2 separate regions of the Homo sapiens genome follow, and region 1 is linked to region 2. Evidence: promoter capture Hi-C in 16 types of primary human blood cells and fetal thymus (Javierre and others, 2016). All regions are on one chromosome and are shown on one strand. The core of a region is centred on a gene start or on the middle of the fragment in contact, and the rest is flanking DNA. Distances in the headings are between cores, read along the strand shown. Region 1 overlaps LYSMD2 (LysM domain containing 2). Region 2 holds the start of SCG3 (secretogranin III).

The links. The method cuts DNA at HindIII sites, captures the fragments that hold promoters and counts their contacts. A CHiCAGO score of 5 or more calls a contact.
Region 1: a contact is called between a fragment that was not itself captured here and the fragment with the promoter of SCG3 in region 2, in 1 of 17 cell types (M1 macrophages). The highest score is 5.8, in M1 macrophages.

What each region holds. Positions count from the first base shown.
Region 1 is chr15:51,725,340-51,730,001 of GRCh38, forward strand. The region is part of intron 1 of LYSMD2 (LysM domain containing 2); the gene reads right to left. Among named protein-coding and RNA genes, the nearest start is that of LYSMD2, 10 kb to the right of the region's middle. RefSeq lists a silencer at 1,074-1,133. The HindIII fragment of the contact is 1,644 bases long and covers 781-2,424 here.
Region 2 is chr15:51,678,902-51,684,092 of GRCh38, forward strand. SCG3 (secretogranin III) reads left to right here and starts at 2,602. Exons shown (of 12, transcript NM_013243.4): 1 at 2,602-2,936; 2 at 3,616-3,668; 3 at 4,178-4,223; 4 at 4,318-4,533. The coding sequence starts at 2,855. The HindIII fragment of the contact is 6,229 bases long and covers 1-2,907 here.

The DNA.
Region 1 (4,662 bases), core at 353-2,852, 45 kb after region 2:
AATTTTTCCACATTATACTATTTCTACTACAAGGCAGCTTTTAACATCAGTGGACTTAAATCTCTGAAGTTTAAAAATGTAAAATTTTTAGCACTTAATAAATTCCATTCTTGTTTTAACATTTCTATTATCTGATTTTTTTTAAACTTACCATTGCTGCTGTTTTACTTATGAAGTGCTTCCCATGTCTCTAGAACTGTACTTAGTAAATACAGTTACTGTATGAACATGAGCTTGTTACTTATATCATTGATCCTTTCTCCTCATGTGTAAAACAGGTACCATCTACCTTTCACAGGGTTGTTGCAAGGATTAAATGAGAGCTTATATACCCACTCACATCAAGGAAATATATATATATGAGAGAATATATAAAAATATATGTACATTCTATACATATATTCCCATATATATCTATATGGAAAGAGAGAGAGAAAGTAGTGATTAGAGTGTCTGGCAGTGGATGGTACTTACTACTCTCCACTTTGCGATGAAGAAATCAAAACACAAAAGAGATGGTAGATTTGACCAAGTACATATGGCTCTTTAAATGTTTAAAATGGGATTTTTGTCTGACTCCGAAGTCCGTACAACATCTGAATTAAAGTACACAACTAATGAAATCACATTATGGGGAGCCTTTAATGCCAAATGAATTCTGAGTAAAAACAAAAAAATTGTATTTCTACTTCAAAAAGCCTGCAAAAACAACAGTCAACTAAGTGGACCCTGTTCATCCTGCTTTGTTATAAGCTGATTCCATGCAAATAGTACATGTAAAGCTTTCTTTTTTCTTCTAAAGATACTCCATTAAAGGAATGAGATTTTTAAAAAGGATGGTCTTTTGTGTTCTCGTTTCTAGTTTAAGGGGAGAAAGAGAACATAAACATGGGCAGGTGCCTTTTAGAGACAAAATTAAAATCTAAAAACCCCAAGTATCTCTGGTCTAGTTCAGGTTTGAAAGGGTTAATAACTTGGACACTTTGCCCGTAGCAGGTTCAGGTATACCTATTGCTATTTCGCCTTTAGGACCCCTAGATCTTGCCCCCAAGCATCCAGCTGCTCTATCTCTCTTAGTGCATAGGCTTCCAATGACACTAAGCCCTCCCCTGGCTCCAGAGTGAGCATATGACTCATTCCTGCCCTGGGGAGCATCACAGGCTTTTGTGATAGATCACAGACCCATGACAGAATCATTCAGACATGCAAAGAGACTCCTGCAGGACGGTAGTCGAGGGGAGAGTTCTCTACTGCTTTCTGCTGGAAGGAGATAGGCTGGAGATGCTGGCAGTCATCCTGGCACCTTGTGGAATCTGATACTGGAGTCACCTTAGAGGTGAGCATTTGAACTTCTGGATCACAGCCTGAAGACAGAACATGCTCAGTTCCAAGATCCACTAAACTCCACTTGGAGTTTGTTTTTTGTTTAGGCCAATTTGAGTTAGGTTTTCTGTCACTTGTAGCTGAAAGAGCTCTTGCTGATACAGTGCCCTTTGAAATGCTTATCAGAAGGGGACTACGACTGCTAATAGTCATTGCTTCCTGGGAATAATGATGGAAGACAGAAACAGATGGGACCAGGATCCAAACTGCTGAGCAGAGCTAGGAACTGCAAGAGTACACTATTAATTCTTTGAGGGCAAGAACTGGTTATTGCTATAGCCTTCCTGGTCTGACAAAGATCTCATACACACTAAGTGCTTAGGATGGATGGACAGGTGGATGGAAGGATGGATGGATGGATGAATTAACGCAGGTCAGAGGAGTGGGCATGGAAGATGAAGTAATCAGAAATGGGTAGTAAGTTATCTGTCGTGCTGCTTATTCTCCTTTCAAACCCACTCTCCCCTCCCAATCCATTCCTCCACTCTTCTTGGGCTTATTCTAAACCCTAGGAGGCTGACTTTTTAAGAACGGCATTACCCAGGTCCCCTTGTCCTTGGAATTCCAGTTGGTTTTCAAACAGCAGCAGAACGACCTTACCATAACCAGTGGCTGCATTCCTCTCTGGTGAGAGTTCCTATCAGGAGTCCCAGATCCAAGGCTCCAGATCTTGCCAGTGTTCCCTTGGCCCTTCAGGCCTAGGGGTAATGTCTCCCTGCTATTGCTAGTCTCTGGGTGCTTCAACTTCCCTTGTTGGTTCCCTCAACTATGCCCACATTCAGTAAATGTCCCTTTATTAAACTCTCTTCGGCCACATCCTCTGAGAGTGTTATCTGTATTCTGCTGCAATGCTGACAGATACATCTATCATACAGAGCACAATGGGCCATCAAGGCCAGGCAAGGGGCCTACAGAGGACTAGACAAGGTGACAGACTCAGAGGCTGTGTGCAGTCAGGGAGTCCACAGGCAGTGAAGGGCTAGGCTCCCCCTGGCTTCTGTACATACTGCTGCACAAGTGACTCACTATAACTGGTCCACAAGCTTCCTAAAGTCAGGGGCTCCACTGTCTTCATCTCAATGTCATTAGTAAGCATTTAAGATGTATGTGGACCTTTATGGTCTAGACTACAAGATGACACACAAGATGACAGAGTCAAGAACACCAGGGATATTCAGACACAGTTAGCAACAAGGTGGGAACCAATCTAAGGACAGGGGCAGATTTGAGTCTTGAGTTTAATACAGCATAGTACTCAGAAGCATGGGTTCAGGGGCCATACTTTCTGAGTTCACATCCTGGCTTTCCCACTTTCTAACCATTCCCTGTCGGTTTACTTATCAGTAAAGTAAGGATAGTAACAGTTCCTTCCTCTCCATATATCATAATGAATTAATTCATGTAAAGTATTTAGAACAACATATGGGCTGGGCGCAGTGGCTCATGCCTGTAATCCCAGCACTTTGGGAGGCCAAGGTCAGGAGTTTGAGACCAGCCTGACCAACATAGCAAAACCTCATTTCTACTAAAAAAAAGAAATACAAAAATTAGCCAGGCGTGGTGGCGCATGTCTGTAATTCCAGCTACTCGGGAGCCTGAGGCATGAGAATCACTTGAAGGTGGGAGGCAGAGGTTGCACTGAGCCGAGATCACAACATTGTACTCCAGGAGAAAACACACACACACACACACACACACACACACACACACATATGGCACACAAGAAGTACTCAAAGGTGTCAGCAATTATTATCATTAAATTTAATGAAAAGTAAGAAAGCAACAGGTAAGGGCAGATTCTAATGTATAATCAGCAAATGAGAAGGAAGAAGGTAGAAATTTTCTCCCATAAAATATTGTTTCTCAGCGGGACACTGTGGCTCACTCCTGTAATCCCAGCACTTTGGGAGGCCGAGGCAGGTGGATCACCTGAGGTCAGGAGTTCAAGACCAGCCTAGCCAACATGGTGAAACCCCATCTTTACTAAAAATACAAAAATTAGCCAGGCATGATGGCAGGTGCCTGTAATCACAGCTACTAGGGAGGCTGAGGCAGAAGAATCGCTTGAACCTGGGAGGCAGAGGTTGCAGTAAGCCGAGATTGTGCCATTGTACTCCACCCTGGGTGACAGAGTGAGACTCCATCTCAAAAAAAAAAAAAAATTTGTTTCTCCCCCAAAGTAAGAATATATAGGGAAAATCTCACATGGATAAGCCCAGATGAATACCATAATATATCATCACTGCTTTGAGATGTCACAAAAGGCTTTGAATAGGTTTTTCAAAAGGTAATGAAAATCTTAACCTGTTCTTTACAAGCTATGGCTTAGGCCAAATGCATAGGCTCTAAACTCTGTTACCCATGATGAAATATGAAATCAGACATGCAAAGCGCCAGGAATAAAAGCATTCCATCTAGAAAAAGGAGTAGCAAATGCCCTGGGGCAGGAAAAAAATCATGTGGCTAAAGTGTAGGGAGTAATAAGCAAACTTCCAACCAGGCAGGGCCTTGGGTGCCAAGTTAAGGAATTTGGAATTTATTTTAAATGTGATGAGAAGCCACTGGAGAGTGAAGGCAGGGAGTGACATGATCTGATCACAGTTAAAGATTGCTTCAGCAGCTGGGTGCAGAAAATGGATTAGCAAGAAAGAGGCACCTGCCATAGCACAGACAACAAACTGAAAAATACAAAATGGTGAAACGATGTTTTCTTTTGCTTTGGTATGTTTTTATTTATTTATTTTTATTGTTTTTGAGATGCAGTCTCGCTCTGTCACCCAGACTGGAGTGCAGTGGCACGATCTCGGCTCACTGCAACCTCTTCCTCCCGGGTTTAAGCTATTCTACTGCCTCAGCCTCCCAAGTAGCTGGGATTACAGGTGCATGCCACCATGCCTGGCTAATTGTTTGTATTTTTAGTAGAGACGGGCTTTCGCCGTGTTAGCCAGGATGGTCTTGATCTCCTGACCTTGTGATCCACCTGCCTCGGTCTCCCAAAGTATTGGGATTACAGGCATGAGCCACCGCACCTGGCCTCCTTTGGTATGTTTTATACTTCTGTCTGAACGTAGCTGGGTCTACTGTTCTGGCAATTTCACTTCATATAAAGCTAAGAAAAGTCATGATCCAATCCAAGGAAGAGCTGGAAAACTCTATAGCTTTCCCACCTACCCTCTGTTCAACACTTCCTAAGATCCAATTAATGCTGAGACTAGAAAATGTGTCCTTTCAAACTGATGCAGGACTATCCTCTGTTTCTTAGGGATGGATGAATGGGAG
Region 2 (5,191 bases), core at 1,352-3,851:
GCATGCTTATTTCAATATTTCCTCTACTTTTGTGCTTGAAATTTTCTATAAAAATACAATAATAATTAATATATTTTTTCTGTAATAAATGAAAGCATCCTACAAATGTCTCTACCTTCAAGACTCAGCTCAAAAATAATATTCTCCACTAGTGAATGAGCGCACCACAATTGTTCCATTTGTGTTGACAAATGAACAAGCAGCATTGACAAACTCACTGTGCATTGTACATTGTTGATTTAATAATTATCTGATCTGTGTCAATGTTATTTGTCTTGTAATTTCAACATATATTTTCATATTATTCCATGTTTATAGTGTTCTCACACATAAGAATCAAATATTTTAATCTTTTTATTATTAATAAAAGGGCTGTCTTCTCTTTGAAATCTTTCCTGACCATTCATTCCATTATTTGGACAGACTCTACTTGAGCTTTGCAAATACAAAAAGGACACATAACACTCTCTTGTACTTATTCATTCACTTATATTTCAATAAGAATAGTGTGTTGCATGTGAAACCTGTTCACCAAATAGTTGTTGTTATATTCACAATATTTTCTCTCTACTAGGCTATAGGACTAGCAGTGACTAGTGTCTTACTTGTCTTTGTACACCCAGCAACTATCTCAATACCTGGTACATTTCAGATGCTCAATAAACACCTGTTAAGTGAATTGATGAATAAATACAATTTAGGATTACTCCATTCACAGACCTATACTAAGTCCAGTGGTATCATCCATAAGGCTGAATAATGTAAACTAATTCATGCCTATGTTTTACTCAATGCTCCACCACTCATTTGATCAGAAACATAACATGATCCTAGATTTAGTGTCCATTTAACATAATCACTTTAAGTCCAAATGGCAGAAAGAGACAAAATACCCTTTTTCTTTTGGGCAAGCAATGCAATGTACTCAACAGACATCCCTGACCTTCATCCCATCCTGAATCTCTCCCAATTGCAAACATGTATTGAGGAGATAAATGAGTCAGGAATGGGACAAAGGACAAAGTGAAGCTGAGGGATTAGGTCAGTGAGTCTCAGGATCAGTGAATGGCTATTTCAGATAGCGTTGGGTAATGTTTCATAAAAGCTGAAAACGTTTCATGACTTATTTTCTTAGGCTGTATCAAAATATTCTTGGTATCAAAATGACTAGTTCAAAACATGTACCCATTTGATCTTCATAATAACAGTGTGAGGTAAACAGAGCCTGTCATTTCCATCATAAAGAAAAGGAAACTAAGGAAATATACCCTTCATTCAGCTGGGATTTTAAAATATGACTTAATTTTTTAATGCAGTATACTGGGATAATAATGCTATGTTATTACTGCCAATAAAGAGTTTTTTGTTTTGAAGGAGCTGTTAGATTTAGAATACTCTTTAGATCCTCAAAGGAAGTATTTGAGTGACTTCCAAACTCAAAAACCTCCGGAGCAAGGGAGATTTGTTTGTCAGCTTGGTTGTTTGTTTGTTTTTAGGTACTTGAATAACTTCCTCCTTGAAAAGGAGGGTGCAGAAATCAAAGGCCTGATTGTGCTGAATCCTTCTCTTTGGTCATTATTCAGACTGGTTCCCAGCATGCCGCAGTCCAGAGGAAAAGGTCCAAGTTCTGTTTAAAAATCAGAGACTAAAGAGCTTACTCAGCATCCTGCTCACATTAATGTTGCTTGTTTTCATCATTTAAAGTCTTTTGATAGTTCCTTGTATACAATAACCTTAGGCTTCTGGGAATATTCTCAGAACATAGGAAGCACCTCCCTGACTTAGTAAAGATGAAAAATGCTTTTCATGACTATCCCCTCTCTTGAAGGACCCCCTGGAACAGCCAGGTCTTTGGGCATAATTAAATTCTGGGCAAGATTTTACAGAAATGCAGCTTCTTTTTTCTAATTTAGTTGTGTGGTGTGTGTGTGTAAAGTGGGGGAGGTTCCACTTGGTGGGGAAAGGAGAATTTGCCATTGCTGCTCGTCTACTCAGGACTGTTTCTGTTGTTGTTGTGTTTCAGCATCAGAGAGTGAGAGTGTATTGCAGCAATCTGACTATTTGGAAGACTGTTCCTTGAATTTCCCAATTCAAAAGCCTCGGTAGAGCTGAGGGATGCTTGATACGTCAACACAGACCACAAAAGGCAGGGCTTTTCTAAAGAGATTATAATTATATCTACCTTTTGGGTACAGGAGGTGAATGGAAGGAAGGGATTCTGGAGCAGATATCCCAAAAGAAGAATCCCGAAGCAGAACTCCTCGCACAAGGTTATCTAAATCTCCTTGACAGGTGCACAGGCAGAGAAGGCATTTGGCCCTTGAAGTAACATTTACTTGAGAGGTTGGGACAATTCTGTCACGCTTAGGACAAGCCAGCTGACCCTGAGCCCAGGAGCACCCTAGGACTGCAGCACAGAAAATACACCAGCTGGCCGGTCGCCCCTCCTTTGTTCCATTCCCGGGGGATTGGAGTAGCGTTGGAGTCACCGACGCCATCCCCTCCCGCCTCTGGCGTGCATGGAGCATGCGCTTCCTTCCTCACTTCCTCTGCAGGAGGGAGCGAGAGTAAAGCTACGCCCTGGCGCGCAGTCTCCGCGTCACAGGAACTTCAGCACCCACAGGGCGGACAGCGCTCCCCTCTACCTGGAGACTTGACTCCCGCGCGCCCCAACCCTGCTTATCCCTTGACCGTCGAGTGTCAGAGATCCTGCAGCCGCCCAGTCCCGGCCCCTCTCCCGCCCCACACCCACCCTCCTGGCTCTTCCTGTTTTTACTCCTCCTTTTCATTCATAACAAAAGCTACAGCTCCAGGAGCCCAGCGCCGGGCTGTGACCCAAGCCGAGCGTGGAAGAATGGGGTTCCTCGGGACCGGCACTTGGATTCTGGTGTTAGTGCTCCCGATTCAAGCTTTCCCCAAACCTGGAGGAAGCCAAGGTATGTGAACACTTTTCTTCTTCCTACCTTCCTTTTATTTCGCCACGAAAAGGTAAAGTTTGGCATAATACGTGAGCTGTAAATCACCCTGACGCGTTTTCTGATCAAATCATATCCATGAATACGGACAGAGAAATCAGTTCGAATTTAGAGACAGAAGACAGATTTTTTTTCTTCACTTTTAAAATGATAGAGCAATAATATGGGTTGTTTTTAAAGATCTTATTTTGAAAAGGGAAGGGAACCTTTTTCACCTAAAGTGGCTTGGATTGTTTTCTAGTTGCCTTACAACCTTTCTCAGACAGTCTATTCATTATATATGCAGTATATGATGAAAGAGCTTTTAGTGTGCCAATAATACCAATCCAAATTATGCTCTCTCTAGCTGAGAATAGCTGATAACCCTAGTGTTAGAACTATATGTTAAATTTCTGGTCAGAAAAAAAAAAAAGTGTGATTCTGTCAGCTCAAGAAATACACCAAGATAATAAACAAGGCAATATTGATAATTACTATTATTGTATAATCTTGATAATCTTTGTTAATATGCATTTGTTTCATAGTCATCCAAAATTATTTCTCCTAATATTTTTCCTTTTTATAAAAATTTTATTTAATAAGAGGCATATTTTGTCCTTCAACGCACAATTAAATTTATATTCACATGTGTTTATTCTAGACAAATCTCTACATAATAGAGAATTAAGTGCAGAAAGACCTTTGAATGAACAGGTAGGTCAAAAGTAACATTATGAATGCTATTTCATTTTGATTTAGTTATTATTATTTAATGTAATTATGCTGTGACATTTTGGTCATTTTGAATTTACAAACATCAGGAACTTAATAGTTAATTGACAGAAATTAGGACGGGAAATCTAGTTTTGGTAAATTCTATGCCCTAGCAGTTATTTACATTGAGTTCTGTATAATGAATACATAGAGTAACTATATAATAACCCAGTAAGCTCAGCATCACATCCACTCTGTTGTAAGATTGCCTAATTTACCAGAGATTTCTCTTTCAACAATATTATAGGAGAAAGAAATTAACACTGACTGAGCATCTACCCTTAATTTTATCTCATTTAATTATTATAACAGTGCTCTGAAATAGGAATTATCCACATTTTACAAACAAGACAATTAAATCCCATGGAGATTAAATCATTTGGCTCTTGTACTTGGTAAGTAGTGGAGCAATGATTTTAAACCAAGTCTATCTCCTGTTTGCTTCACAGATTGCTGAAGCAGAAGAAGACAAGATTAAAAAAACATATCCTCCAGGTAAAAAGAAATCATATTGATGTTAATTTAAATAATGTAGGCTATGAGAATCTGAACTAAAATGGCTGTGTTGGGTTTGGGGCTATTCTTCCAGAAAACAAGCCAGGTCAGAGCAACTATTCTTTTGTTGATAACTTGAACCTGCTAAAGGCAATAACAGAAAAGGAAAAAATTGAGAAAGAAAGACAATCTATAAGAAGCTCCCCACTTGATAATAAGTTGAATGTGGAAGATGTTGATTCAACCAAGAATCGAAAACTGATCGATGATTATGACTCTACTAAGAGTGGATTGGATCATAAATTTCAAGGTAAATGAGAAAAAAAGAACTTTTTGTTAACGTGGAGTTTCCTATAATGGGTTAAGAGAAAGTCCAATATTTTAAAAATATCTTTTAAACATTCATAATCCTTTATTAGTCAAGTCCAAAATTGAGATAAAGCATATATTTACTGATAACATGTAGAGCCCCAGCTCCACAGAGTGCCATATTTTATTTTCCCTTTAAAAATTCCTTTAGTGATGCTCTGAAAACATTTTTTAATCTAGTATTTGTATTTTATGGTATTAAATTCATTTGAACATTCAGATTTATTTTAACAATGAGTACACACAAAATATCATAATTTTCAAATAATTAGATCAGTAAAGTACCCTCCCACCCTGCACAAAAAAGGTGAAATATCCACTATTTCCTTTTCAGTGTTTCCTCCTAGCCATATCTTTTCTCCTTAGGTCATCCTAACCTTTACGTGGCTTCAATTACATCTATATCCTAACATCCCATATCACTAGGCCAGACTTCTCTTAGCTATAGACCTATTTATCTGTTTACCTATTCGACATTTTCCCTTGGCAGTGTCAGAAGCACCTCAAATTTAGCATGCCCATGATTAAACTCATAATCTGTGTCCACTTCACAACCTAGACCTCTTAGAGTACTGTTTCTTTAGGAAAGGCACTACTAT